Linked DNA regions of Homo sapiens: region 2 is linked to region 1. Evidence: promoter capture Hi-C in 16 types of primary human blood cells and fetal thymus (Javierre and others, 2016). All regions are on one chromosome and are shown on one strand. Each heading gives the region's core, a stretch centred on a gene start or on the middle of the fragment in contact. The rest is flanking DNA. Distances are from core to core; before and after follow the strand shown.

Region 1 (3,909 bases), core at 261-2,760:
ATAACACCTCCAAATTTAACAAAAGCCAAATTTCTTAGTATATAAAGATAATTAAGAAAGTTTAGAAATCTAATGGACTGGATGTTCAAACTCATTTATAACTAAAGTGTCATGAATTCAAACATCAGGACATCATTTTCACATATTAGACTGTAAAACTGAATGTAGTAGAAAACTGAATGTAGTAGAAAAAACAAAAAGGACTGATGAGGGTGTGGGAAGCTGACACTCTTGCAACTGGTGATAGGAGAGAAGAATAGTTCAGCTTTTCTGGTAGGTGGTTTGACTGTGTGTGTGTGTGTGTGTGTGTGTGTGTCCACGTGTCCAGTCATAAATGAAAAGACATACATTTGTTTACAAATTTTTCTTGCTGAATTGTTTTTGATAATTAAAGACCTATTTTTCATCAGTAGCGGAGTAATTAATGTGAGGCAATTCATCTGCTCCTCCTCAAAGTTTTACTTATCGATTAAAAATAATGAACTAGGTTTATGTATGGATAAGATGTCTCTAATATATTGCTAGTACATTGCAGAACAATTCACATGGTGCATTTGCAATTGCATTTTTTAAAAATCTAAAAGGTATACACATGCAAATATAAATATATTTGTATTTGCTAGGATATATAAGAAATTGGTAACATTGATTGATTCTGAAGGGGAAGACTGAAGAACTGGTATTCTTGGACAGACAAACATTTTTCTTTTCCTTAAACCCTATAAATCCATCGATTGCTTGATACATAAGTCAATTGCAAGTATTATTTTTTAATAAAAAGTTAACAATTTTCAAAAGTAGCATTATTAAATAGTGGAAACAGACTGTTCCTATTCATCTAAAATTAGAAGCTCCCCATTGGTCACTAGTCTGTCTATCCTGTCTTCACTCCACTTATTTCCACTTCTACCCCAAACATATATATTGTCTCTTCCATATGATAGTGCTACAGAATCTACAAACTGTCAATGGACTTGTTCACCATATCTAAGAACATGAAAGTGAGGGCCTCCCTCTGAAGGTACCCTCCGGGCAAAGAAGAATTCAAGATGGTAGGAGAACTAATAGGACACAACAATGAAATAGATACAACAGAATAATCGAAATGGAAGTGAAGTGAGGCTGAACTAACATTGGATAGTTATGTAGAGAGACAGATAGGGTGGCTCAGAGCATTAAGGAAATTCTTGTCTTTGGAGAAATGCCTCAGAGGACATCCCAGCTTGCTAGATGCCCCTAACAGAAAGATTCTCAGAGACTAGGGGCATGGAGCTGCCAAAATAAGAGCATTCTGCTGCTCTTTGTTGGCCCAGATTTTTCCTGCAGATTCCCTCTCTTCCCATCATGATACCAGGGGAGCCCAAGGGCAACAACTCATCCTAGTCATCATCTCTGCTTTATAGGGTTCCATTACCTTTGGTCACCCGAGTTAGCAACCCACAGATAATGAAGGTCAGCATCAGGATATTCATGGCTCCTGGGAGAGAGGAAGCTCTGTGTCCTGAGGAATACAGAACACTGCACAGCAAGGAATTTAAGTGGTCACCTTTACTGGTCTATCATGGGTGATGAACCAGAGAAGGGGAAAATGCCATGCCACCCAGATCACCAGACCATTAATTTGCAACACTGAGTGTGCATGACACAATAACGTCTGCTTCTAGAAATTATTAAAGAAAGCTGAGGCCTTATGAGATAAGCTATTATCCCGTAGAACTGTAAGGTCTGATGGAAAGAAACAGCCCCAAGAGGAAGTTTTTGTTAACTTTAGATGGGCTCAATTGTCCTTCTCCTCTGTCTGTATGCAGCACTTTGTACATACCCAATGACAGCAGAATGGTGTGTAAAGATATCACTTGTGGCAGTTCAATAGCTTACAACATCCGGTATTCACCTTTTCTTCTGAGTGATCACCCCGATATGAATTCCTGTGAAACAAGAAAGACACTTTTTAACTAATAAGTTCATAAGATTCCATCAATTATGAGACAGAAGGAATTTGGAATGAAAATAGTGAAAACAGGAAAACAGGTTTTATTGGTGCTCTTCTTTTTCCCGTTCCGCTGTCCCATCAACTCTTTTCCCTCATTCAGAAATACAAATAAGAAATGAAATATTGAGAGAGAGGAAACATTTTAAAAGGAGAGGGAGAGAGAAAGAGAGAGAGGAGAGAGGCCCAATGTAACATTATGCCCCCCATCCCCACTACCAAAGGAGAAAAATATAGGAGACATTTGTGAAATTGCCCAGTAGGAGTGATCAGCATTTTATCTCCTGGAAGAGTTTGCTGAGCTGTATTTCTCCCACATATGTTTAATACCAAGGAAATCAGGAAAATTTTAAAAAAATTTTCTAAACAGCTGCACTGTTTAGAAAAAAAACTGCAGCTCACTGCCCATGTTCATTTAATTTTACATTAACATGCTCTGGAGGCTGACTGATGTTCAGTGTGAAAATAAAATATACAAACTGTTCTTGGAATTATTTTTAAACAGAACTAACATCAGAATCATCTGAATAATCAGAATCATCTATTTTGGAAAAAACCGGATTCATTAAATGACTCTTTGGCCCAAAACTGTTTGAGAACAATGTTAACATGGGAATGCTATGCTTTCTAGAATTTGACATTTTCAGCGATCAAGAATTTCTATATTTTGTAAATGGAAATACCACTGCTAACAACAAGATGCTATAAATAGAATGATGATTTGTGTTTTCAAAGTCGATATATTAGAACGATGTGAAAATAATAATAAAGGCGAGATATTTTGTGGCAAAGTTATCTCAGGGTAAACCCTGCAGCTGCAAGTGCCACCAGCGAGTATTCTGGGTGAAAATGGGAAAAGGGTTAAAAATGCAGGATGGCCAAAGCCATCCTAAGCAAAAAGAACAAAACTAGAGGAATCACATTACCTCACTTCAAATTATACTACAAAGCTATAGTAACCAAAACAGCATGGTACTAGTATAAAAACAGACACATAGAGCAATGGAAAAGAATAGAGAACACAGAAACAAGTCCACACATCTACAGTAAACTCATTTTTGACAAAGTTGCCAAGAACATACTTTGGGGGAAAAACAGTCTCTTTAAAAAATGGTGCTGGGAAAACTGGATATCCATATGCAGAATAATGAAACTAGACCCCTGTCTTTCACCATATACAAAACATTAAGTCAAATGGATTAAAGACTTAAAGCTAAGATCTCAAACTATGAAACTACTATAAGAAACTGGGGAATCTCTCCAGGATGTTTGGACAAAAATTTCTTGAGTAGCAACCCACAAACAAAGGCAATCGAAGCAAAAATGGACAAATGGGATCACATCAAGTTAAAAAGCTTCTGCACAGCAAAGCACACAATCAACAAAGTGAAAAGACAACCCACAGAATGGGAGAAAATATTTGCAAACGACCCTTCTGACAAGGGATTAATAACAGGAAATACAAAGAGCTCAAACAATTCTATAGGAAAAAAATCTAATGATCCAACTTAAAAATGGGCAAAGTATCTGAATAGATATTCTCAAAAGAAGACATACAAATGGCAAACAGGCAGATGAAAAGGTGCTCAAAATCACTGATCATCAGAGAAATGAAAATCAAGCTACAATGGAATATCATCTCACTCCAGTTAAAATGGCTTTTATCCAAAAGACAGGCAATAGCAAATGCTGGCAAGGATTTGGAGAAAGGGAAACCCTTGTATGCTACTGGTGTGAACGTAAGATAGTACAACCACTATGGAGAACAGTTTGGAGGTTCCTAAAAAAACTGAAAATAGAGTTACCATACAATCCAGCAATCCCACTGCTAGGTACACACTCCCCTCCAAAAGGAAATAAGAATATTGAATAGATATCTGCACACCTGTGCTTGTTGCAGCACTATTCACAATAGCCAA
Region 2 (4,315 bases), core at 412-2,911, 140 kb before region 1:
GAGCCAAGTCCATCATAAAACTAATTTAAGAAAGAAGTTCAAAAGAGAATCAATAGAATTTTCAGGAGTCTTATCTTTTCACCAAACTCAGTAGCCCATGACTTCTCTCTTCTCAACAATCACTAGATCTGTGATTCCTGAAGCATGGTGTTCTATCTCTTCTAGCCTCTTTGGACACTCTATCTCTCAGAAGTCTCATTCATTATCCTAGCCTTAACCTCATATCCACCAAGGTAACTTCTGTATTGTTATCTATAATTCTAAATTTCCTGCTCGGCTTAGTACCTTATCTTTATCTGCTGAATGACTTTTCCATCCTAATGTCTCGTGTTTCTTTTTTCTGAATCAAGAAAGCTTTTCTCCCTTGTTCATCTTAATAACCCAATGATTTTCCCTAAATTACAAGAGATTTATGTAGCATCTGCTAATTTTCAAAGCATATTTGCATACATTTCCACATTGTTTTCTCATCAAACGGGAAACAGAAAAATTCTTATATTGGAATCAGCTGCATTGATTAACCCCATTATACTCATGTGAAATTGAAGTTCAAAGTGGTTAAGTGACTTTACCCAAGATGACACAGCCATACTTGCTTATGGTACTACCCTTTTCCTAGGGTCCCAAGATAAAAACATTAGAAGATAAAAACATTAGAAGCATCTTTGACACTTCCACTTTCCCTGCCCCGAAACCCTTTGCTAATTTTTTCAAATAGCTGGATGATTCTTGTATTCTGAAACAAATCTCAGTGCTTCTCCTTTCTTTTCCAAAAACAATGGTTAATCCCCTGGCTTAGCCTTTTGCTATAATGCATTCCTAGATGCCCTTATGGTAGTTTGGGGGTTTTCAGGAAGACAAAGTCTGAGAGAAGCGATAAAGGCTCTGGAAAACCTGAAAGAATTCAAGATGGAGAACACAGGCCTGTTTACTTGATCTTGAAAGGGTTTTTTTTTGAGCATGAGGGAAGAACTTCCTCCTTTCTACACCAAGCACAAACTGATAGGAAACTTTGCTTCAAGAGGTGGTTTCACAGGAAGGGGAACAACACACACTGGGGCCTGTTGGGTGGAGGGAGAGCATCAGGAAAAATAGCTAATGCATCCTGGGCTTAATACCTGGGCGATGGGTTGGTAGGTGCAGCAAATAACCATGACACACATTTACCTATGTAACAAACCGCACATCCTGCACAAGTACCCCAGGACTTTTTTTAAAAAAAAAGGGCTTTTAAGATAGAAATAGAGCTAAAAGGAGGTAGACCTGGGCTTAGTCTTAGCATGATAGACATATACAGGGCAGGAAGGCAGCATTATATTTTGGATAGTTTCTGAATAGACAAAAAATACCCTGCTTTCTCTGTAGCTTCCTGGGTGTTTCCACTGGACACAATCTGGCAGTTGGGGCCTATGAGAATGTATCAGTGCATGACTGATACAATAGGTAAGCTCTTTAGCCATCTTTTTGAACAGCTAATCTTTCAGTCTCCTCTCTTTGGGTTTCCATTGTCATGGGCAGCCAAATCCTTGGTTCCTCTCATCTACCCATCTTAAACTTGGGAATCCACATTACCTGTGTTCACCTGGTACTGTAGCATGAGGCTGGCAAAGATAGGAAAAAGGAGCTTCATGGTTGGGTGCCAGAGAGGAAGCCTTGAATCTGGGTTGATGCTCCTGAGCTCCAGCCTTTATTGGCCTCTTCGTGGCCTTATGCCATGAGCAGTGAAGTGCAGCCAAAGCAGGTTTGTATGCTGCTCGCAGTATAGTTGTGTTTTTTCTGACTCTGTTTGAAAACACCCTTTCTTGAACACCTCTATGCAACAAATTCCTTGCTCTTGATCCTGGAGGAAAACATAAGATAGGTAAGATGAGAAAGAAAGAGCAAGCCCTTTGCATGTGTCTCTCTTTTGCTTTTTTGAGATGGAGTCTCACTCTGTTGCCCAGGCTGGAGTGCAGTGGCGTGATCTCGACTCACTGCAACCTCCGCCTCCCAGGTTCAGGCAATCCTCCTGCCTCAGCCTCCCAAGTAGAGTATCTGGGACTACAGGCATGCACCACCATGCCCAGCTAACTTTTGTATTTTCAGTAGAGACGGGGTTTCACCATGTTGGCCAGGCTGGTCTCAAACTCCTGACCTCAAGTGATCCGCCCACCTTGGCCTCCCAAAGTGCTGGGGTTCCAGGCATGAGCCACCGCACCCAGTCGCATGTCTCTTTCTTAACGTTGGAGTAGGATAAGAGTTAGATATTTGATTCACTGATTGTCAGCCCAGTTATGCTAAGGTTGGCACTTAGTGCATGAGAATTAGAAGAGCTAGAGGAGAGTGAAGATTCTGCCTTGTTTGTACTGGTATGTCCAGTGGCCAGCATGGGTATTGGATCAACATACAAAGTCAGTACGTTTGTTAAACAAGTTCGTGGGAGACAGCTCTTGGCACATCTTTAACTTTTGAGTTTACAATGATTCCCACATCCTTTTAAAGTAGCAACTAAAAAAAAACTTTTTTAACTTCGCGGGTATATGTGCAGGATGTGCTGGTTTGTTACATAGGTAATGTGTGTCATGGGGGTTGGTTGTATAGATTATTTCATCACCCAGCTATTAAGCCTAGTGTCCATTAGTTATTTTTCCTCATCCTCTCCCTCCTCCCACCTTCCACTCTCCAGTAAGCTCCAGTGTGTGTTGTTCCCCTCTGTGTGTCCATGTGTTCTCATCATTTTGCTCCCACCTATAAGTGAGAACATGCAGTATTTGGTTTTCTGTTTCTGCCTTCATTTGCTAAGGATAATGGCCTCCAGCTCCATCCATGTCCCTGCAAAGGACACGATCTCATTCTTTTTTATGGCTGCATAGTATTCCGTGGTATATATGTACCACATTTTCTTTATCCATTCTTTATCCAAATGGCCAAATGATGGGCATTTGGGTTGATTCTATGTCTTTGTTATTGTGAATAGCGCTGCAGTGAACATATGCATGCATGTGTCTTTATAATAGAACCATTTATATTCCTTTGGGCATATACCCAGTAATAGGATTGCTAGGTCAAATGGTATTTCTGACTTTAGGTTTTTGAGGGATTGCCACACTATCTTCCACAATGGTTGAAATAATTAAAAGCAGCAATTTTTATAGTGTACTGCTCAGATTCCTTGGTCGTAGCTGATTGATCCAGGTGTAACAATAGAACCAAGCCTACCAATCAGATGCTTTCCCCTGCTAATTTGGGACATTTCCTAAGAAACTCAGATATTGAAGCTCATTGGCTCTGAATATTATTAATTGTTCAAGTTTCAAGAGTTTCCCTGGTTCCTCGCCTTCCTGAAATTCATGTCTTCTTAGGATTTCATTAGCTACTATAGTATCCAATGACTCCTCAGTTTTGTTTAAATTAACTGTTATTTTTTAAAACAATAAAAGCAAATCTTATGAACTTTCACTTTATGAAATGTATATTTTACTTCTATGAACAAAAATAATCAAGCTTAGGCATATTTACTTACTACTTGTCAATATCAAGAGATGGAATTAACAGCCCTTTGGAATCAGTTAATCCTGAATATCGCATATTAATTGGTTTCTGGTGTTTTAAGATGCATTGAAATAACATTATTCACCTCATTGTGTCTTGCTAGTCCCAAAGCAATAAGAATATGGAAAGTACTGGTACAAAGAGAAGCACAGTTATTATGGAACAAAAAGTTGAGTTAATAAGAATTGGAAAGTTATGAAAAATTAAGTATGTTGCATGTATATATGGAATGAATCTATCAACAGTGTAGCATAATTTTGTAAAAAGACAAATTATTCACATGTGCAAAGTGTTGCATTTATGTGTATCAGTTGGGAAATGAAAAACACTAGCTATTTTCAACAGAAATATTTTTAATACTCAGAATTATGTGCTTATAAACTCTCTACAGAAGCTGACTGTGGGCTTGGTCTCCCAGAATGACTTCCAGAACATTCCAACAAACTGGCCCAGCAGAGAATCTGCTAGTTCTTTCATAGTCAGGAAAGTAGGGTGACAGGATCCCATGATTAGACATGCTGGACTTCAAGAACACACCACGGTAGCTGTAATATAAGAGCAAGGATATTTTTCTGCTGCTTCTACAACTGTCTGTTGAAACCCATAGAGCTAGGGATCAGACATTGGAATGTAGCAGAAAAACTCAACTGAGTTTAAAGATTTAAGATTTAATTTCCCTAACAATTTAGAACTGTCAAATTTTCAATTTCTTCTTGGGTCACATCAAGTAATGTTTATTTCTTCTAAATTTCATTTTTGGCATAAGGTCACTCACAATATGTCC

Evidence for each region. The method cuts DNA at HindIII sites, captures the fragments that hold promoters and counts their contacts. A CHiCAGO score of 5 or more calls a contact.
Region 2: the fragment with the promoter of DEFB129 here is called in contact with the fragment with the promoter of DEFB125 in region 1 in 3 of 17 cell types (erythroblasts, endothelial precursors and megakaryocytes); the score reaches 9.0 in erythroblasts.

Annotation. Positions count from the first base shown.
Region 1 is chr20:85,273-89,181 of GRCh38, reverse strand. DEFB125 (defensin beta 125) reads right to left here and starts at 1,510. Exons shown (of 2, transcript NM_153325.4): 1 at 1,415-1,510. The coding sequence starts at 1,472. The HindIII fragment of the contact is 5,466 bases long and covers 1-3,347 here.
Region 2 is chr20:224,604-228,918 of GRCh38, reverse strand. DEFB129 (defensin beta 129) reads right to left here and starts at 1,661. Exons shown (of 2, transcript NM_080831.4): 1 at 1,573-1,661. The coding sequence starts at 1,630. The HindIII fragment of the contact is 3,129 bases long and covers 357-3,485 here.